7 separate regions of the Homo sapiens genome follow, and regions 2, 3, 4, 5, 6 and 7 are each linked to region 1. Evidence: promoter capture Hi-C in 16 types of primary human blood cells and fetal thymus (Javierre and others, 2016). All regions are on one chromosome and are shown on one strand. The core of a region is centred on a gene start or on the middle of the fragment in contact, and the rest is flanking DNA. Distances in the headings are between cores, read along the strand shown. Region 1 holds the start of ATP2B1 (ATPase plasma membrane Ca2+ transporting 1). Region 2 has its middle 77 kb from the start of LINC02392. Region 3 has its middle 140 kb from the start of LINC02392. Region 4 has its middle 170 kb from the start of LINC02392. Region 5 overlaps LOC105369890 (a long non-coding RNA gene). Region 6 overlaps LOC105369890 (a long non-coding RNA gene). Region 7 overlaps LOC105369890 (a long non-coding RNA gene).

Evidence for each region. Contacts are between HindIII fragments. The CHiCAGO score rates a contact against its expected background, and 5 or more counts as called.
Region 2: a contact is called between a fragment that was not itself captured here and the fragment with the promoter of ATP2B1 in region 1, in 1 of 17 cell types (M0 macrophages). The highest score is 5.9, in M0 macrophages.
Region 3: a fragment that was not itself captured here is called in contact with the fragment with the promoter of ATP2B1 in region 1 in 1 of 17 cell types (fetal thymus); the score reaches 7.3 in fetal thymus.
Region 4: a fragment that was not itself captured here is called in contact with the fragment with the promoter of ATP2B1 in region 1 in 1 of 17 cell types (monocytes); the score reaches 6.0 in monocytes.
Region 5: a contact is called between a fragment that was not itself captured here and the fragment with the promoter of ATP2B1 in region 1, in 11 of 17 cell types (total CD4 T cells, total B cells, non-activated CD4 T cells and 8 more). The highest score is 12.1, in total CD4 T cells.
Region 6: a fragment that was not itself captured here is called in contact with the fragment with the promoter of ATP2B1 in region 1 in 3 of 17 cell types (total B cells, non-activated CD4 T cells and naive B cells); the score reaches 6.5 in total B cells.
Region 7: a fragment that was not itself captured here is called in contact with the fragment with the promoter of ATP2B1 in region 1 in 3 of 17 cell types (total CD8 T cells, total CD4 T cells and total B cells); the score reaches 7.8 in total CD8 T cells.

What each region holds. Positions count from the first base shown.
Region 1 is chr12:89,707,342-89,710,311 of GRCh38, forward strand. ATP2B1 (ATPase plasma membrane Ca2+ transporting 1) reads right to left here and starts at 1,497. Exons shown (of 21, transcript NM_001366521.1): 1 at 1,255-1,497. ATP2B1-AS1 (ATP2B1 antisense RNA 1) reads left to right here and starts at 1,614. Exons shown (of 1, transcript NR_028138.1): 1 at 1,614-2,970. RefSeq lists enhancers at 376-465, 476-575 and silencers at 766-995, 1,146-2,165, 2,186-2,735. The HindIII fragment of the contact is 7,681 bases long and covers 1-2,970 here.
Region 2 is chr12:90,215,035-90,218,004 of GRCh38, forward strand. No RefSeq gene overlaps it. Among named protein-coding and RNA genes, the nearest start is that of LINC02392, 77 kb to the right of the region's middle. The HindIII fragment of the contact is 1,282 bases long and covers 899-2,180 here.
Region 3 is chr12:90,151,520-90,154,489 of GRCh38, forward strand. No RefSeq gene overlaps it. Among named protein-coding and RNA genes, the nearest start is that of LINC02392, 140 kb to the right of the region's middle. The HindIII fragment of the contact is 582 bases long and covers 1,310-1,891 here.
Region 4 is chr12:90,119,408-90,122,377 of GRCh38, forward strand. No RefSeq gene overlaps it. Among named protein-coding and RNA genes, the nearest start is that of LINC02392, 170 kb to the right of the region's middle. The HindIII fragment of the contact is 8,320 bases long and covers 1-2,970 here.
Region 5 is chr12:90,098,281-90,101,250 of GRCh38, forward strand. It overlaps LOC105369890 (a long non-coding RNA gene), which reads left to right. Exons shown (of 13, transcript XR_001749246.2): 11 at 2,423-2,561. Among named protein-coding and RNA genes, the nearest start is that of LINC02399, 150 kb to the left of the region's middle. The HindIII fragment of the contact is 3,931 bases long and covers 1-2,970 here.
Region 6 is chr12:90,082,030-90,084,999 of GRCh38, forward strand. The region is part of intron 10 of LOC105369890 (a long non-coding RNA gene); the gene reads left to right. Among named protein-coding and RNA genes, the nearest start is that of LINC02399, 140 kb to the left of the region's middle. The HindIII fragment of the contact is 3,803 bases long and covers 1-2,970 here.
Region 7 is chr12:90,057,703-90,060,672 of GRCh38, forward strand. All of the region lies in intron 8 of LOC105369890 (a long non-coding RNA gene), which reads left to right. Among named protein-coding and RNA genes, the nearest start is that of LINC02399, 110 kb to the left of the region's middle. The HindIII fragment of the contact is 316 bases long and covers 1,222-1,537 here.

The DNA.
Region 1 (2,970 bases), core at 247-2,746:
ACAAAAGCCTTATTTTAAAATAAGACTGTCCTCAGGTGGGGGAGGTTAAACACAACAAAGGCTTCCATGTTGACAGGCAGACAAGTTCAGATATATGCATATACCTACACACGTATGAAAAAAATCTATGTAGCTAATTTATCACGAACAGCAATCGATACCAACAGAAGCCATTAGATTATTAATAAACCAAGAAAAGTAGCGGGCACAGAAGCGAAAGGTGGCTGTCTGCAGCGCTCTAACCCAAAGAAAAGGTAAATATCAGCCTGTCGAGGAGGGTCGAGCCCTCCAAGTACCTGCAGACCCCTTTAACCCACCCGGACGCCCTGCCCTCCCCTCCGAGCCAAGCAGCGCACAGGGTGCGAGCACTCCCAGCGCTGCGAGTCCCGCAGAAAACTGGTGAATGAAATGCGCACAGAGACCAACCTGGCTGGTGACCGCGGCGCAGAACCAGGGGTCGCTAACCAGCTTAGCCACAGGATTCTCCCGCAGGATGGGATAAAGAGAGCACAGCCCCCACCCCACACCCCTGCCACTGGAACGCGGTCCTCCTACAGACTCCTTCCTCAAAAAGGGAGGTGGGGGCGCAGGCTTTTTTCTCTTAAACTAAGTGAATAAACACGAATCGGAAACAACTGTGAACATCCTGGGGGGCCAGACGGAAGGCGTGAGGAGAAAGACCAGGCGGCTCTCCAACTCCCGAGGAATCACCGTCCTGACACGCCAACAATCAACCACCAGGGCCAGGGGCCGACCAGGGGCCCCCGCTCCCCTCCCGCAGTGCGTCTGGGGGGCCGAGGCCAAGGATTAGAGGGGTGACCCTCCCGGGGCGCGGGGAGAGGGAGTGCCGGGCACGGTGCCCTCAAGGTCACCACGCGCCGTGGCGGGGGCGACCGGTGGCGGGATGGGCTGTGGCGCGGCCGAGGCGGCTTCGTGAAGCCGAAGACCTGCGGGTGTAGACCAGAAGCCCCAACAAGCCCCATCCCTCGGGCCCGGAGCAGCGACTCCCAGACTGACCCGGCGCTGAGGTGCACGGCGAGAAGCCCGCTCACCTTCACAATCTCCCGGCAAGAGGCAACCTGCGAGGGGCCCCGACCGCCCCCGTCAGCTTCTCCCGAATCCGGCGCAACCCGCTGCGCACCCAGCTATCAGGATCCCCGCCGCGACGCCCGACCTCCGTGCTCCGCCTGGCCTCCCCCGCAGGTGACCTGCCCCGCCGCCCCCGGCCGCGGGCGGGCGGCGGCCGCCACTCACCTCGCCCGGCAGTGGGAACCATTTTCCGAGGGGGAAGGAAAGGCAGGCTGCGGGAGGGTCGCGGGGCGTTAAGGGGCAGCGGGAAACGCAGAGGATGGGGGCTCCGTCCTCAGCGCGTCCGCAGCCGGCTCGCAGGGCTCGGGGCGCCACGCGGAGGTGCAGCTGCACCTCGGGGATGGGGCGGCCAAGGAGCCGAGAGGCTCGGCGTCCACCAGCCGGGGCTCCCTACTCACGCTGCACTGCGAGGAGGCGGCGGCGGCAGCGAAGGAGGAGGAGGCGGCGCCCGGCCGTCCCCGCCCAGAGCCCGGCAGCCACCGAGTGGCCGCCCGCGTCCCCGCAGGACCCGCCTCCTCGGCTCCGCAGAGCGGCACACAGGGCGCGCCGCGCTCGCTCGGCACGGGCAGCTCAGCCGGCCTCACGCCGCCGTCCGCAACAGCAGCCGCGGGCGGGGTGCAGCCACCTCCGTGAGCGCCGCAGCCCGCCCCACTCGGGGCGGGGCCCGCGGGCACCGGAGAGCGGACGGCCGAGCACGAGGGGGCTGCGCGCAGCTCCGGGCAGGGACCCCGTCTGCACCGGGTGGCCTGCAAGATTGCCGGGGTAGGCAGGGGGAGGAGAACGCTCACCCGTTCCGGTCTGGCGCTCCCTTTTCTCCACACCCACACGCCTCCCGCTCCACGCTGGCGGCGCAGCTGCTCCCGCTGCCACAGCCGCCACCGCCGCCGAAGCTCGCGCCGCCGCCGCTGCCGCCTTGGCTGAGCGCGGTCACGTGACGCGATCCGCGGGGAGCCTGGGGGCGGGCGAGTGCGCGCGCGCGCGCGCGGAGGAACCGCGGCTCGGACCGGGACTGGGAGCTGAGCGGCACTGGGAGGGCGTTTAAGGGGAGGACCCGGCGAGCGCGCCCTCGGCTGGCGAGCGCGCGCCTGGCGATTAGAACTTGCCGCGCGGTCGGGAAAGGGTGGCCGGAGTGAGGGGCGGAGGTGGGGACTTGCGCCTCCGCACGCCCCTCCCTTTCTTCCTTCCCCTGAGCGCCTTGGCTTGCCGCTGCCCCCGCCCCCTCCAGCGCGCCCCTTCCCTCCTGCCGCAGCCTGCGATTGGCTGAGAGGCTCTGACGTCCGTGTTTCCATGACGTGTTGGTGCAGGAGGGAGCGGCGGGGGAGGAGGGGGTGGCCAGGCGCGCGGGGAGGTGACTCCGTCAGTCACAGCTGCTGTTTCGGCGCGGGGCCGGGCCGCTGCCGCGACGTGTGGAGGCAGGAGAGCGATGATTGCCGCAGGAGAAGTGCGGGCGCCCTTCACCTGGGGCCCCTCCCGAACCGCCCCCGGGCCCATGCCCCTCCAGGGCCCAGGAGCGAGCCAGCGGGAGGGCGAGGGCGAGCGCTCCTGGCGAGGACAGATTAAGGCGAACCCCCAGTCAGCGGACATTTGAGCGGCTCCTCGCCGCGTCTCTGCCCCCACTCCAAACCGGACTCGACGCCTGTCCCGGGCCGTGACGCACGCACCGGAGGAAAAAGTGCTTCTCGGCTCGCTCCCTCTTTGGGGAAGAGAGCTCACTCCCCATGCGGGCGCGGGACACTCCATCTCTGTTCCTGCCGGTCGGGTCCGCAAACACCGGGGATCCCAGCTGCGGCGCCCAAAGGGTTAACGCAGGCGTTCGGCCAGTGCAAACCGGCCTCGCAGGATCCGCGCTTAAAATCCGGGTGTTTTCATTTTGGGTTTGTT
Region 2 (2,970 bases), core at 290-2,789, 510 kb after region 1:
CTTTTTCTCACTGTCTATTAAAACATGAGTCCTTGCTTTATTTCTGCTCAGCTATTTTTGGGGAGTGACTTTAGATCATGGTGGCTGCATCCACTATTTGGAACTAAGCGGGTAGAGGAAAAGCTGTATCCAACTTTACCTGCTTAGGTGCAAATAATCAAGGATCTGAAAATTAGCTAACATCAGACAAATTACCAGGAACATAGAAAAGCTTTACTTATACATGAGATCATTATATTCCGCACCTTCTCTGGGGACACCTCTTCTGTGCATGGATAAGCCATAAAAAGGCTTATTGATTTGAGTCACATTTGGAATGAGTATACTTTCTGAAGCTGGGTTAGAATCCAGGCTGCTTTGTTTGGGAGAAGGTACCTCTTACATTAAAATTTTTCTTCTTGACTTTTTGTTTTCAGCCTTCTTTGTTCTCCGTACCCTACCCTGCTCTCTCATGGGAACTTCTCAGTAAAGTGAAACCTGCCAACAGCCTTCATAAAACCCCTATGACTATGTGCTCCACCATTACAGTGCTGCCACTGTCTGCTTCCTTTCTTTTCGGCATGACTTTTCCAAGGATCATTTAAAAGTTCAATGGCTTCTTTGAGAAAACTTATTCCTCTAAGACCTTTCTTTTCTTTCTCCAGTCTCTCAACTCCCTAGAGTCATTGGTACTTTAGGGCACTGGGGTCTTTCAAGAGACCCCAGAAGAAAAGATCTGGTGCTAAAGAGGATAAATAAAATAGACTGGATATTATCCACTCAGATGGACTTTGGAGGCATGCAGGTGACCGCTTACTGCATCCTTAGCCCCTTCACCTTAAATTTATTAAGTTGTTCACAGTCTCCATAATATTACATATGAAAATTTAAAAATCTCCTTTACAAATATTCATAAAAAAGCTTTAGCCCTTATATTGAGCAAGTAACAACTTGTTCCATTTGTCAGAAATGTAATTTGGATAAAAATACACAGTGAAGCAAAGACGAAAACCAACCCAAATACATACTAGTGAGTTTTATATTAGTATACTTACGCTTGATGCATAGCTAAGTTTTTGGAATGAAAGCCATAAAGATCTCTACTTGCAACTGTCTCTCTGTCTGTACGTATGTTAAGTGTATGTGTACTTTCCAACCTCTGAGTGTCATGACCAAATTAGTAAAAGAGCTCTATTCTGATTGGCTTGGAGAAAAATAAGTGCTTTAATAAATCGACTATTCCTAAAATTGTCAGAAATGTTGGAACATTATAGTTGACACATAAAATCAACTATAATAAGTCCACCCCTTGTCAACTTGGCATCCATCTACATTTCCTTAAAGCATACTTATTTTCCAAATAAAGAAAATAACAAAGTCATAATTTTACCTAACATGATACAGCTGTCCTGCTTACAACCAAAAATGCACTAATTCCTTTCCAAGAAGAGGAGATAAAATTCTTGAGTGTGTTTACTCTTCTACTTGCTATCCAACAACTTAAAAACTACAATACATAATTAATAATACTTAAACATGATGATGTAAAGTTACATCTTTTGTTACATGGTAAGAAAATACAAGAGAGAAGAAAATGAAACCACCTTTGCAAAATTATAACAGTAAGATAAATCTGGCTTGCTTCTAACCCCCAAGCTCCAAGCTCCTCTAAGTCTACCTTGCTTTTAACCTACAAGCTGTCCTTACTCAATCCTGGGCATGGGCCAAGCTAACTTTTGGAGGAATTTAGTTTATAGTTTAACTTTAAAGCAAGAATGATAATAGCCCTTCCAAAAACTAAACCACCTTTGAAAAATGAATGAGAGACCACGAGGTTAGATTATAAGAGAGGACTGTATTCTGTTAAGACATAGGCATAATTTCTGTAATGTTTTACTGCTCAGGTCTCATGTGGCCAGAGATGACAGAATTTGTGACTTCCTCAATTTCTCCTATAAATAACATCACTATTGTGGAACCTCAATGGTCTTTTGAGAATCTTTTCAAACTTCCTGGCAAGTGACTGACCCTGCCAAGACCTGTGACTCATGACTCAACTGGTCCTGTGGCCCCCACTCAGAGGAGAACTCAGCACACAAGAATTGTTTTCCACACTCCTATGATTTCATCTTCAACCAATCAGCAGCACTCATTTCCTAGCCACCTGCCCACAAAATGCTTCATAAAAACCTTAACTTTCAAGCTTTCAGGAAGACCAATTTGAGTGATAACTCTAGTTCTCCCATGTGGCTGGCCTCTAATCAATTAAACTGTTTCTCTACTGCAATGCTGCAGTCTCAGTGAATTGATTTTTTTTTGTGCAGTGGGCAAGAAAAGCCCATTGGGCAATTAAAAAAATACTTAAAATATATACTATATATAATTACATATATCTGACATATGTGAATATATATAATATATATTTCTATTTTATTTATATATTTATATTTGTGTATATATAACATTTATGATATAAATGATGATTCATGAGGCCATTCTTTAAAATAATAATAATAACATTTATAATATGATGTTATAAATATGTAACAATTATATATTATACTTATATTTATAATATATATTTTATTATATATATATATTCTTTTTTGAGACGGAGTCTTGCTCTGTCGTCCAGGCTGGAGTGCAGTGGCACGATCTTGGCTCACTGCAAGCTCCATCTCCTGGGTTCACGCCATTCTCCTGCCTCAGCCTCCTGAGTAGCTGGGACTACAGGTGCCCGCCACCACGCCCAGTTAATTTTTTGTATTTTTAGTAGAGACGGGGTTTCACCGTGTTAGCCAGGATGATCTTGATCTCCTGACCTCGTGATCCGCCCGCCTCAGCCTCCCAAAGTGCTGGGATTACAGACGTGAGCCACTGCGCCCAGCCTATTATATATTAAATAATAATTTATATCTGGCACATATATAATTTTATATATAATATAATATATGTAATTTGATATATATATGCCTAAAAATAGTGTCCAAA
Region 3 (2,970 bases), core at 351-2,850, 440 kb after region 1:
TCATTCTAGCTTTAGAGCCTTTTGTACTTCCCTTCGCCTGGAACATTCTTCTTCCATATGTTCCCAGTCTCAGTTACTTCATGTTGCTCACATCTTAGCTAAAATGTCCCATCCTGAGAGAGCCATTCTTTGGCCACTATCTGTAATGCTGCTCACTTTTTTCTGTTACACTTTCTACATGGCACCCATCACTCTTGGAATGACCAAATGTTGGTGGAACATAACTATTAAGTATGTGCGTCCTGGAGCTTGACTTTTTGGCTTTATGCCCTGGCTCGGCCTCTTGTTACAGGCTGAAAGAATGAGGGTCCTGGAGCTTGACTTTTTGGCTTTATGCCCTGGCTCAAATAAAAGACTTCTGCCATGTGATGAACATAGGAGCTGGGGATTAAGGAAGAGAGAGGGAAGGACTAGGAAAGGGAAAGTACTGAATACTGAGTCAGAGTGGGGAAATGTGTCTTCAAGCCTCCCCAAATAAGCAGAGACACCTGGGAAAGGCCATGGCCTCTGAATGGAGGCTCCTTGTTAGCAATGTGATGTGCGTTAAGAGCATTGCCAGCTGGAGGAGCCTGAATCCCTGACTGCAACTCCTTCCAGAGACGGAAAGATGATGACTGTGCATGAAGTCTGGAGTTGGGAGGCAGCTCTCCCTCTCAAGGCCTGCCAGGTAAAGTCTTTGTAATTGCCTATGGTTGAGCCTCAAAGATCACACATAGGATTATGGCCTGGAGCTAGACTCCTCAATTATGTAGATATTAGCTCTAGTTTTTATAGTTTTAACTGTTTTCTAACTATCTCATGCCACCCTTTGGTATTAATTCCATGAAAGCTGTAACTATGTTGATTACATTCACGCTTTTATCTTTAGGGTCTGGTTTAATGTCTAAGGCTGGTTAAGACTACCAGAAATATACATTGAAAACATAGGTGTACTTATGTATATTTATATGAAATATTTCCTTTTAATGTAAAAAAAGAAAGTAAACTTTAAAAAACTGAGCGGCAAAGGCATATCTATTTCCAAAGTGCTAAAATACATTATAAAATATCTAGAGGGGCTGCTTGGGCTGGAGGCGGCTTGCGTCCTGATATCAAGCATCGTTCCCTCCTGGACCTCGAGTGCGGGGCTGCACACTGACTGACTGCCTTGGTTAGGCCCAACAAATCCCCAGTTCCCTGCAGTACCCCAGACTCCTGAGCCCCTGTTGTGGAGCCCTGTGAATTGCAGGCAACTGGGTAAATCTCAAGACAATCCTGATAGAAAACAGGGAATCAAGGCAGAGGTTGGCAAACAATGCAATGGAATTGAAGCTTGGCATCAAAGAAGGCTTAACAAGGAGACCTTTAATTGTAAATGTTTAGTGGGGGCAGGGCCAAGATGGCCAACTAGAAACAGCTGTGATCAGAGGCACCCATGGAAAAGAACTATAATAAGTGTATGACTGCTTCACCGGCAAGCAAGGTATCCAGGTTCTCTCATCAGAACTGATTAGGAGGCTGGCGTGATCCACAGAGAGGAAGGAAGAGCAGTGTGGTGAGGCAGCCCATCTGAGAACCACACGGGGCAGGGGGGCCCCCACCCCTAAACCAAGGGAGGCGGTGAGTGAGCAGGCTATCAAGTCGGGGAAACTGTGCTTTTTCCACATAACTGTGCAAACCACAGATCAGAAAATCCCATTTGTGAGCCCATGCCCCTGTGGCCTAGCTTCCCAACCCCAGAGCCATGCAGATTCTCAACAGTCTCTCAGCTGGAATCTGCTTAAGCCTACTGAGCTCACGTGGGGAGTGTCAACCAGCACCACAGCTGCAGCTGCGTGCTGTCTAGGCCCTTTGAACTCCTTGAGGGAAGGGCAGCAGCCAGCACTGGGACTCACAACTGCCTAATTTGCTAAGCTTCCTGGGTGGGGGAAGGGCAGCATTCATCTTTATAGCTCCAGGCCATGCTTTTCCCCTGCTGGAGCCAGGGAGGCTGTACGACTTGGTCTCCAGACGTGTCCCCCACAGCACAACACACCAGCAGTGGCAGACTGTGGCCAGAGTGTCTTCAGGCCTGACCCTGACTCATCCCTCCTCACTGGGTGTGGCGTCCCTGAAGGAACTTCAATAACTCCAGCCAGAGGCTCAGGGACAGAACCTGGATCTCCCTTGGCCTGAGCCCCTAGGGGAAGTGGTGGCTGCAGTCTATGCGGACCAGCAGACTTAGCCTTTCCTCCTGGTAGTTCTGAGGAATCTGGGCAGCCCAGAGAAGTGGGTTTCCCACCAGTGAAACACATCCCCTCCACCAAGGGGCAAAGTGCTGTTCCCTATGACGAATCCTGTTCCCTATGCCACCCAACTCGGTGAGACCCTCCAACAGGGGTTGTCAGGCACCCTATATAGGAGCGATCCTACTGGCATCAGGTTGGTGCACCTCAAGGTCAGTGATACCAGAATAAGGAGCAGGCACCCATCTTTGCTGTTCTCCAGCCTTCTTGAATGACATCTCCAGGTGTGGGAGTGAAGCAGATGAATAGGGCCTGAAGTGAATCCCCAGAAAACCACAGCAGCACTACGGCAGAGGGACCTGACCATTGAAAGAAAAACAAACAGAAAGCAACAACAATAGCATCATCAACAACAAAAAAAGCCCCTACAAAAATCCCATCCAAGGGTCAGCAGCCTCAAAGATGGAAACTAGACAAACTCACGAAGATGAGAAAGAATCAATGAAGAAACGCTGAAAACCCAAAAGGCCAGACTGCCTCTTCTCCTCCAAATTATCACAACATCTCTCCAGCAAGGGCACAGAACTTGATGGAGGATGAGATGGACGAATTGACAGAAGCAGGCTTCAGAAGATGGGTAATAAAAAACTATGTTGAGCTAAAAGAGCATGTTCTATCCAATGCAAAGAAGCTAAGAACCTTGATAAAACGTTAGAGGAGCTGCTAACTAGAATAACCAGTTTATAGAGGAAAATAAATGACATGA
Region 4 (2,970 bases), core at 154-2,653, 410 kb after region 1:
GTGTTCTATGTGCCGATAGGAGGAACACGTTTTTGTAGTTTTTGGATAAAATTTTCTGTAAATGTCTATTAGGTACATTTCATCTAAAGTCTAATTTAAGTCCAATGTTTCTTTGTTTATTTTCTGTTTAGATAATCTGTCTAATGCTGAGAATGTGGTGTGGAAGTCACTGACTGTTACTGTATTGAAATATATCTCTTTCTTTAGATCCAGTAATATTTGCTTTATGAATATGGGTGCTCCGTGTTGGGTGCATTATAAACTTAGAATAGTCACATCCTCTTAATGAATTGATTACTTTATCATTATTTAATGAGCTTTTGTCTTTTTTTTTTTACTGTTTTTGACTTAAAGTCTGTTTTATCTGATATAAGTATAGCTACTCCTGCTTGCTTTTAATTTCCATTTGTGTGGAGTATCTTTTTCCATCCTTTCACTTTGAGTCTTACGTGTCTTCACAGAGAAGTGAGTTTTTTATAGGCAGCATGTAGTTGGGTCATTAAAAAAAAAATCCATTTAGCCAGTCTGTATCTTTTAAGTGGAAAATTCATTTACATTCAAGGTTATTATTGGTAGATGAGTACTTATTCCCATTATTTTGTTGTTGGTTTTATGGTTGTTTTGTATATTCTTTGTTTCTTTATTTCTGTCTTATTTATCATTGTGGTTTGGTCATTTTCTGTGGTGGTAATATTTATGTCCTTTTCTTCTTTTGTATGTTTGCTTTGGCAGTACATTTTATGCTTTTGTGGATTTTCATGATAATTGATCTGTCATTTCACTTTCAGGTGTAGGACTCCCTGAAGCATATATTGTAGAGTTGGTCTAGGAGTAATGAATTACCTCAGTTTTTGCTTGTCTGAGAAAGACTTTATTTCTCCTTTATTTATGAACGATAAATGTTTCTGGGCATGGTATTCTTGGTTTGTAGGCCTTTTTTTCCAGCACTCCTGGCCTGTAAGGTTTCTGCTGAGATATCTGATGTTAGTCTGATGGGGTTTCCCTTATAAATGACTAGACACATTTCTGTTGCTATTTTCATAATTCTCTCTTTACCTGATTTTTGACAACTTGATTATAGTGTGTCTGGGAAAGGACAAAATGTAACTTTTTGGGTTGCATCTATTTGGAGATCTCTGAGCTTCCTGTATCTGAATGTTTAAATCTTTTGCTAGACTTGGGATGTTTTCAGTTATCATTTCATTAAATAGATTTTCCATGACTTTGGTCTCTTCACTTTCTGAAATATCCAAAATTTACATATTTAATTGCTTTATAGTGTCCCATATGTCACATAGGCTGTTTCATGCATTTTATTCTTTGTTTTTGTTTGTTTTGGGGTGTTTTTTGTTTGTTTGTTTTTAGTTTTACAGAGTTATTTCCAAAGACTGTCTTCAAGTTCTGAGATTCTTCTGCTTACTCTTGTCTATTGCTGAAACTCTCAAATGAATTTCTTGTTTCATTCACTGAATTCTTCAGCTCTAAGATATCTTATTTCTGGTTTCTTAAATGATATCTATCTCTCTGATAAATTTCTCACTCATGTCCTGAATTTTTAATCTGATTTCTTTGTATTGTTTATCTGTTTTGTTTTTCTGTATCTCACAGGGCTTTTTAAATATTATTATTTTGAATTCTTTTCCTGGGATTTCATAAAATTATTTTTTCTTTAGAATCTGTTGCTGAATAATTATTGTGTTCCTATGGAAGTGTAATTTTCTTTGTTTCTTTTTTGTGTTTCTTGAGTCCCTACATTGATATCTGGTGTCATAGTTGTTTCTACAAATTTTGAGGATTAGTTTTCATGGGAAATATTTTTCCTGGAGATGTATCTATGGTGTTGGTTGGGTAGGACATTTTATCTTTAATTCTGGATGCATGCAGTAGTGTAGTCTCTGTATGATTTCTTTGGCTGTAAACAATGTTAGTGGTGCTTGTGATTTTTTTTGTGGCTTATGCTGCAGTTGTTAGTGGAGGCTGTGTTGGGGTTTTGCTGAGGATGAAGATGCAAAGCGGGCTGGTCTTTGGGCCCCATTGGTGACAGTGGTGGGCTATGCAACCTTGGGCCCCTAGTCAGCATACAGAGTTTTAGTGGGTGCAAATGGGCGTACTCTTGGCCTTCTAGATTGCTGGGATGCTGGCAGTGGCAGTGGTGGGCTGGGCAGATGGTAGGTCTTTGTTCTCCTGCATAATGTGTATGGCATAAAGAGATGGAAGTAGTGGTGGTGAGTCAACCCTTGGGCTCTGAAGCAGCAGATGTTTGTGTTAGCAGCAGCTGCAGTTTGCTGAGTGTGCCAGTCTCTAGGTGGCACATATGGGTGACAGCATCTTGCTGTGACAGTAGTGGCAGGTTGGGTGAACACATTCTCAGGTCCCCAGGAGGAATGCACAGATGCTGGTGGTGGTGGACAGAGCAGTGCAATCCCTAAGCCTTTGTGCCATGTGCTTGGATACTGGATGGAGAGCAGTACCAGGCTGAGAAAGCCTGTCCTTAGGCCCACTGGTGGTGCATTTGGATGCTGGCTGTGGTGGGCTGATTGGGGTGATCTCAGGCTCCTCTGCAGAGTGCTTATGTGGCTGCAGCAGCATTGGTGGAATGTAGGGGGAGTCTGTTCTCAGATAGCATGCAAATTCCCTATAGTCCTGCTACTTGGGGAAGGGGAGCAGAGTTGCTAACCTTGACTGTAACCATGGGCAGATAATTCTCAGGCTCTTTGGGGTGTGCTCTTTAGCCCCCTGTGGAAGCATCAGCAGTGGGGTAAACTAGTCCTCAAGGTACATGCGAGTGGATGACAGCAGTCCTGCTAGTGGGGAGGGTGGGTCGCTGCTAGTGATGTGCACTTTGGTCCCCAGCAGCAGTAGTGGCATTTGAGTTGGGTGACAGTAGAGCCTGTCCTCAGAGTGTGTGTGCAGCATCACTGCTGCTGGGGTGGGTTTGGATTGCTTTCTGTGGTAGTAATCCCAGGTGGG
Region 5 (2,970 bases), core at 223-2,722, 390 kb after region 1:
TCAACCAAAGATTGTTTCTAGAGGTCACATGCCTCCACTTAATTACTTCCGTTCCTATTCATGCTACAGAATAGGAACTTACTGATCTGTCTGGTGGGCATTTTAGTTTGTATAAATTGAGATTCGAGAGTTCATTTGGATAAAATAAGATGCTGGCTAAAGTTCAAAGCAAACATTTGCTGATGCTTAAAACCACCTTGAGACCAAAAAAGTTTACACTCCCTGGTTTCTCTAGGGAGTAGGGTTTGAGAAAACCACAGACAGTAGTTATTCTTGGAAATCCTGCTACCAGGCAAATGCCATAGGGCAAGGGCCCAGAGAAGCTGAGCTTCTCTCCCATGGCTAAAGGCAGAGCTTATCCTGACTGGAATTGCTTGGTCAGGGTTTAGAATCCTTCCTGCTGATGGAGAGAGAGGAGGAAGCTGAGCAAAAAGAAAGATGACTAGACTGGCTCTTGGAATTATATCCTAGAATAGCTGCCCAGTTTAGGTCTTCTCCTGATACTACTGACTTCCTGGAAGCCCTCTTTACACATAGTCTCTGGTTATTCCTTTTTTTTTTTTTGAGATGAAGTCTCACCCTCTCACCCAGGCTGGAGTGCAGTGACATGATCTCGGCTCACTGCAACCTCCAGAAAACTCCGTCTTCTGGGTTCAAGCAATTATCTTGCCTCAGCCTCCCATGTAACTGGGATTACAGATGTGCACTACTGTGCCCAGCTAATTTTTGTATTTTTAGGAGAGACAGGGTTTCATCATGTTGGCCAGGCTTGTCTTGAACTCCTGACCTCAAGTGATCCACCTGCCTCGGTCTCTCAGTGTTGGGATTACAGGCGTGAGCCACTACACCTGGCTGATCCATGGTTATTCTTCTTGTGTACCCCTTTCTACCAGGATATATAAAGACAGTTGAAGAATGTATCTGCCCCGAAGTTTCTACTTAAAATAGGCTTTGGTGGTTTGGGATTAAAGACAATTTGTATCTCAGTTCACTTAGGATCTGGGATAAAAATTGAAGTGTTATAACTACCTGATAATATTGAGAATATTAAAGAAGTATAGTGTGATTCTTAATAAGTACCTTGACACCTTTCCTTCAGAGCTCAGGGTGATTCAGTGGCCATTTTTCTTTGTGTTTTCTTTCCTGTCTCAGTCTGATATTACAGAGCAAGTTTATGTTCTGATTAGGAAAAACTGCAGTTCACTAAGATGCTATATTTGCTATTCAGTGAGTCATACTAAAAAGCCTCATGTTCTTAAATGACATAAGGAAATGGAATCAGGAGAAAAATCATGATCACAAAATGCACCATTCCAAAAATCTAGAGTGGGACAGAAAGATCAAGCATCTAAATGCAAACCTCCTTTGAACCGGAACTGCTATAACCAGGGCAGCAGATTGCTTGAGAATGGACATTGATTTTCCCAGGCAGAGGGTAAAGTTGTAAACAGTGGATTGTCTACTATTGAAAAACTCTTTCAACATGTTCGGTGCAGATCGGCTATCCTTTAATATTCAATGTACAGCACCATATCCACACACACTATAAATGTACATGAGCGTCAGTCATTTATCTCTGAATTTTCATGTTCCAACTCCAATACCTAATGTTTTAGAGATGCTTGGATGATTACATCATAAGGTCCTCACTCAATATATATTTTCACCTTTTTTTTCTTTTAATATACTTGATTTGTTTGGAATCTCCTTTCGGTTTTTTTTTTTTTTTCCAATGTGGGCAAGTTTTTCAATAGGCTTTGGAATGGGGCTGCAGTGAATGGGAAATGGTTAAACTGTGGTTACATGCTAAGTGACTGGCTTAGGGAATGAAAAAGAGAAAAGGGAGTCACCGATGGAGCCATCAGTCAGCCAACAAAGGTAGGAGCATAGCAGTGGGGAATAAAAACAGATCCAGAGAAACAGAAAAAATAATAAGTTAAAAGCCAATCTGAGTGGCACCTAATAAGAAAAGGAGGCTCATCTATGCATCTCAAGGCAACAATCCAAATAGGGAAGAGCCCAGAAATAGTTGATTGGATTTATTTTAAATAGTAAGGAAATAAGGAAATAGTAATAATAGAATAGGCAAATGTGGGCAAAATAATGAGATAATATACATATTGGTGTGCTGCTGGTGGATATTGTTGAATATTTAATACTATGTGAGCTTTTTGGGGCATGATAGTAAAGGCATGCGGTTATTGCAGCCAATTGGAAGCAAAAACTATCATAAGAGAGTAATGATTGTTGTTGATAGGTTTCTTTTTAAGTAGAGATACTATGATCAGGTTTATGAAGTGAGAGAAGACATCTGTGCTGACTGTACCAGAGTCTCATGACTTTGTATGGTTTGCTGGGGGAAATGGAAAACAACAGCAACAACAAAAACCTAACTTCACTAGCTCCTTGCTCTCTATTGCAGGAAATCCCTGAAAAACCAGATGGCAGAAGTTACTCAGAAGAAATGAAAGGATTTTCCATTATTCAAATAGGAGGTGGAAGAGGAAGTGTGGGAGTAATTACTGGATTAAGATCACTGAAAGACAAGATTGTCTTTAAGGGTGAGTCCTTTGGTTGGTAAACTTCATATAGGAAAAATTCTCAAGTGGTTGCCAAGAGCTAACCTTCAAGATGAAGTACACAAACCTGCTGACAGGCAAATATGACTCTCAGGTTCATTTCAAACTGCCCATACTTATTAAAGCTCTTCATTGCTCTAGGTCAGGGAAAAGTTACATAGGGTCCCTGAATATACTTCATATTTCATTTCTAAATCTGAGTTCTGATGGGGTATGTGTGTATATGTGTGTGTGTGTGTGTGTGTGTGTGTGTGTGTGTGTGTGTGTGTAGAGAGAGTAGGAATTCTGAGACCTGATAGTGTTGACTCTGGAGTTTGATAGGGATAATACAAAGAGAGAGGCATATAAGGAGGAACATAAAAAAAAATTGAAGACTAAGGACACACCCCTA
Region 6 (2,970 bases), core at 222-2,721, 370 kb after region 1:
CTAGACTTATTAACACAAACATCTAAGATGTACCTTGAGGCCCCCTTGAGAATTACTTGTCTGCAGCTATTTATTCATTATTTAGTCATGAACTGGTAACATGTCAGGCATGGAGAAGAAATTGTGTTGCCTTCCTGTAAAGGTAGAAAAGTCAACTATCTGTTAAATGAAAACGTGTAAGTTTGAGAGCTACTTCTCTTGCACTCAATATTTTCTTTAAAATTTTTAAGAAGCAGGTGGGTTATCAGTGTTGAAAGCTAATGTGTGTGTGTGTGCGTGTGTGTAATTAGATTTCTCATCACCTACTTTTGTCCCAAGAGACACTTTCCCTTAATGCTATATCATCATACTATTTTCATAGGAGCAGAATATCATCTTTTTCTTTTTAACTCCCTGTCAAAACCTGATCATCTACTTGCCTGAGTTGAGTAGCCATTAATGTTAGATACTTTATTAGCTAGTTCTATGATTTGGGAATATCATTCAACTTCTTTTTCTCTCAGTTTGAAGGAGTTAGATTAGATAATATTTAAGCAGTTTCAACACTCTATCCCTCTACAAAATAGCAAAATTTGTATTCACTCACTTGAATGTACCATAAACAGTTGTGGGAGTGAATAGCTATGGAGTGCCCATTAAGTAATGTCCAGCATAATTATGTTTATTGGCTTGTCATCACTGTGGTTGATGGGCAGAGAGCAGGTATTCTATTTCCTTTACATGTACCCTAGGTCCTCAACCCTGGTTATCTAAAACTGTGATCTACATAGAGTGGTTGCTCAATTGTAGACTGTCTTATATTTGAAAAATATTACAGAGTCACCCTTGTGGGTAGAGGAGTAAAAAGGATTGCTTCTCCAATGGTTTTAATCTATGAATTTGGATGTGCATGCACTATTATTAGAATTCTCATAGGATTAACAAAATCTGCATCTTCTAACAATATTGCAGTGGGTGATGGTGATTTGAAACTTGTCCAAAGTCACACAGCTGGTAAGTGTGAGATGCAGTACTAGTAGCCAGGCCTCTGATGTTAACAGTTGCTGAAGCGTTCCATGATCCCATCATGGCAGCCATAACTCTCTTCTCTGTGCTGTCATGGTATTTTATTCTCACTGCTAGCATAGAACTTATGATGCTACATTGATTTTTGTTTGCTACGCCCCTAAGATGTGCGTGGTACATAGTAGTCACTAAAAAAATAGTTTGCCAATTGAATATTTGAATGCACATACAAGTGTCTGCTTGCACCAAACAGCTGTAAGTTCCTTAAATAATGGACCTGATCCTATACGTCGTTATATCCCTAGTTCTTCAGACAGTGACTGACACCTTGCTGGTACTTAAATATTTGTTTAATTGAACTAAATTCTTACCAAATGTAGTTCAGTGCTGCTTGTGTTTCACTAACATCACCTCCCATTTTTTTAAAAAACAAATCACATCCTTCCTTTTATTTCTATGTCCTTTTTACTTTTCCCTTTCATTCCTGTTCTTCTTTTCCTATCTTTCTTTATTACACTCTATTCTTTCACTTTAATGACTTAATTTATATAATTTATATCCCATGCCTCTTCTTTTTTTTTTTTTTTTTTTGATGGAGTCTTACTCCGTAGCCCAGGCTAGAGTGCAGTGGCGCGATCTCGGCTCACTCCAAGTTCCGCCTCCCGGGTTCACACCATTCTCCTGCCTCAGCCTCCCGAGTAGCTGGGACTATAGGCTCCTGCTACCACGCCAGGCTAATTTTTTGTATTTTTAGTAGAGACAGGGTTTCGCTGTGTTAGCCAGGATGGTCTTGATCTCCTGACCTTGTGATCCACCTGCCTCGGCCTCCCAAAGTGTTGGGATTACAGGCGTGAGCCATTGCGCCCGGCCATCCCATGCCTCTTCTATGCACTTGCTACCTTGAAGGCTTGGTGAAAATGTCAATAGACAGTTATCACTGTGTTGAGTCATGAAGTCGATCTGAAGTGGGATAAGCTAAGCTCTATGCCAGAATGCACCATTTTTGTATATGTATACTATTGTGTAGGAGGCAAGAGGAATATAAAAATCTACAAACTTGGTGAGGTATTGAGGAAAGTTGGCTGACTCCTTAATGCTTTTCAATGTCCAATTTATGGCTGAGAAAGCAACATTCATGGGAACCATTCAAAGCACCAGATTCTGTTTATTAGTGACTCAGCATTAATGCCCATGACTAAGGCACAAGTGTTCCAAATTCCAGTTTACCTTTTAACCCATTTTGTACGACTAGACCTCATGAACAGTTGTGGCTATTTTTTAACTGGCAAGATTGTATTTGATTATGCCTAAAGACCAATTGTTGTTTTATTAGGATTAAAGGAGCCTGCATTTCTTTATGAATATTTCTGCCGCTATTCTGATGCAATAGAATATGGCACCACAACACGACTTTCCAGCTTGCCATAAATATGAAAACTTAAAAATTGCATGAATTGCTGCATTCTTCTTAGTTTGTCCGGTCTCTTCTTCAGTTCTTAAAACAAGAAATGACTTTCTTTCAATTCTCTCTTCTTGGCTCACTCCGTTCCCCTGGTAACATTAATTTATTGATTTTCAAAATATAAATCCATGTGCATTTCTGACTCACTTAACATTAATTCTTCTGCTCTTCTTTTCCATTCAGTTCTTCTTTGGACCATTCCATTAAATCTGGAAAATGTTCTGTTGGTCTTAGCAGACACCTTCTTATTATGAGGTCCCAGCTTCTAGTTCTGTCTCCTCAAACATCCAACTCCATTTCGTAGCTGCATCAATTTAACGGCTTTCTGAAACTCTATGTTAAATAGCCCTTCTGGGAAGAAAAAGCATATAGGTTACGTTGTAATTCTAAAAATAACGAGCATTATAATTTTACGTAGTTTTTACTGCAATGCCTTATGTAGCATTTAAGATCACTAATTGGAACTAATTTTCATTTCTTCCCATCTTCTCTAATTCATCACA
Region 7 (2,970 bases), core at 130-2,629, 350 kb after region 1:
CTCTTGGTATCAACACCCATGAAAACTAAGGAGGCAAAATCAGAATGGCGTAGGGAAAAGTCAAGGTCGGGTTTGTCCTGCATTGATCTGAAATGCCTGGACCTTCATACCCCTGCCTCCATCAGTCACTGGATGAGTGCCACCTGGGAAGGATGTAGGGGGTCTGATCCTTGAAGGGGCTGTCAGTTGAAGGATGCTTCCTGATGGCTCTCTCAGTAGTAGGAACAAAAAGTCATTCCTTGACGGGATCTGGGTAACATTTTTTGTGTGTTTCTTACCTATTAAACCTGGTTTTGTGAGAGAAACTAACTGTAAAACTTACTATAAATGTTAATTTTATAATTCATATGATGATCAAACTTTTATTAAGGGTCTACTGTGTAATAGCTACTTGATATAAATAAAAACATTAAACCTGACATTTTTCTCTTTCCTTTTTTTTTGATACTGAGTCTTGCTCTGTCACCCAGGCTGGAGTGCAGTGGTGTGATCTTGGCTTACTGCAACCTCCACCTCCCAAGTTCAAGCGATTCTCATGCCTTAGTCTCCTGAATACCTGGGACTACAGGCAAGTGTCACCACACCCAGCTAGTTTTTGTGTTTTTAGTAGAGACAGGATTTCACCACGTTGGCCAGCTGGGCTTGAACTCCTGGCCTCGTGATCCACTTGCCTTGGCCTCCCGAAGAGCTGGGATTACAGGAGTGAGCCAGGGTACCCGGCCTGACTTTTTTTTTAATGTATGTTATTTCTTCTCTTAAAGTTGATAGTCTTTAGACCCATTGCAGTAATCCTCAAACAACCATTGAAGGATCAGGGTCGCACAAAAATACATATTGGTTACTAACTATGTTCAACACTTCAGAAATGTGAATCTTTTCTGCATAAAGTTCTTCCTTGGCATTTCAACACCATAAACAGTAGAATATTTTTGGCAATTGTTAAGCAGGGTAATTGCCAATACATAATTTTTGATCCACTATGACATAATTACAATAACAAAATTTACATATCTTAGTACTTCTTGAAGAACAAAATAAAAAATACTTTTAAGTTAAAACATTCTTGAAGAATACATAGTGGTATAAAAACTGAGCCTCAGGAAAAAAATAAAGGGAAATGCCATTTAATATGTTTTATTATCAACTGGGGAGCCAAAAATAAGTCATACGTAATGGAATTTCATTGTGTAGCAGTGGAATTTCCCCCAGAGTTTTATTAAAAGCTTTAACACAGTTTGAACTCCTCAGTGAAGTCAATGGCCTGGCCAAGGTCTGAGTCAGCATTTTAAGTAAATATGCTAATTTTTTAGCTCAACAAAGAAAATGTTACTTTTAGTGCATTTCCAATTTAAAACAATCTTTTTACTCTACTAGTTATAAACTATTCAGTGTAACCTAACTGAATGTTTTGATTGGTTATATTAAAATTTGCATTTCCTCAACAGTCTGAGAATGGTTTACTTGTTGACTGATCACAGTAAGAAGATTAAATTAGTAGTCCATGAATTAATAAGAAGTGCATTAGATGTTGATACAAAGCTTAATACAAATCATAATAGTGATCATTTTGCATTTGTATCATTTTACGCATTCAAAAGGATAAACCACATTCATTAGTTGATTTTAAAACATTAGATATGTCTATGTATGCAAATGAAAGTGGAGGATAAGAAAATAGATCTAAAAAATTAATTTTTCACTTGTCCTATCATTATCCGCTCTTTAGAAACCCTGCAGGTATAATAGAAAATTCTATAATCTTACTGTTCAGAGTGTGAACCTTGATTGAGAATAGGTGTCACTTGGTTGCCTGTTAGAAATGCTGGTTTTCAGGCCTTACGCCAAACCTGCTACACTGGAATCTGCATTTTACCAAGATACCCAGGTGATTTGTATTCACATTAAAGTTTGAGAAGAATTAAATCTGCAGTGCTTTTGTCTCTGACAAACTGAAGTTAAAATTCCAGTTTTTTTAACATTATCCAAATAATTGCTTCTTCCCTTTAGTTACACAAATAAATATAAGTATAACATATTCTGAGGCATAAAACTCCATACAGAAATGTGAGTCATTGAAGTTAATTTCTGTTTTAAATTCTGAGGAACTAAAGGTATAGGGTAGAATTAGGAAGCTTCTCTTTGAATAAAAATGTTCAAGTTATCCAATTACAAAATATGATTAATAGGCCTAATTTTATTTTTGTATATATTTGACCTTTTCCATCAGAATGATTTCCTAGAAATGTTAAATGGAGGGTTCAGGAAGCAAGCAAAGAAAACAATTTCCATCAAATAACATTATTTGACCACTGCTTACACAGAACAATCATCTTATGAACTATTTTCTCATTTCTTTGCATAAGTGAAATTTCAAAACAATGCTTTCCCCCACTCCCTTCATTTCTTGTGGGTAGCATAAGAGGATTTGCAACCCTGCTTGGTTTATGAGTCTCATATTACTGACTTTGCTCTGCAGATAGATGAAATAGGACCTCAAATGCAGTGGATGTTATGGTTAAAGCTGTTCTTATGTCATTTAGAGATTGTTTTTAGATTAAGGATCATTTGACCTTGAGTGACGGTGGTTGCTTAATTACCTATCATGGTGCCTCCAATAAGAGGTTGTCCAGTGCTGTCAGCCCATTACCTGCCTGTGCCATTCTAAAGCTTCTTGCTTCAGAAGATCTCTCAGCAGGGTTAGAACAAGGTAAAGAGCTTAAATAAGCAAGCTATATTTATCAGCAATAAACAGCAGTCCCTGCAAATGTCCTACCCAGTAAATTAATCTATAAAGGGATGGCTCTACCTGCATGAAAATAGAACTGATTTTCTAAAATTATTTATTAGTATTATTGTGAGCAGATAATACTCTACCATTGATAATAATAGAGACTTGTATAGCAGTTTCATGGCAGTCCCTATAAATATATCAGAAAAGATGAGTGTTTTTTTTTTTTTTTTGAGACAGAG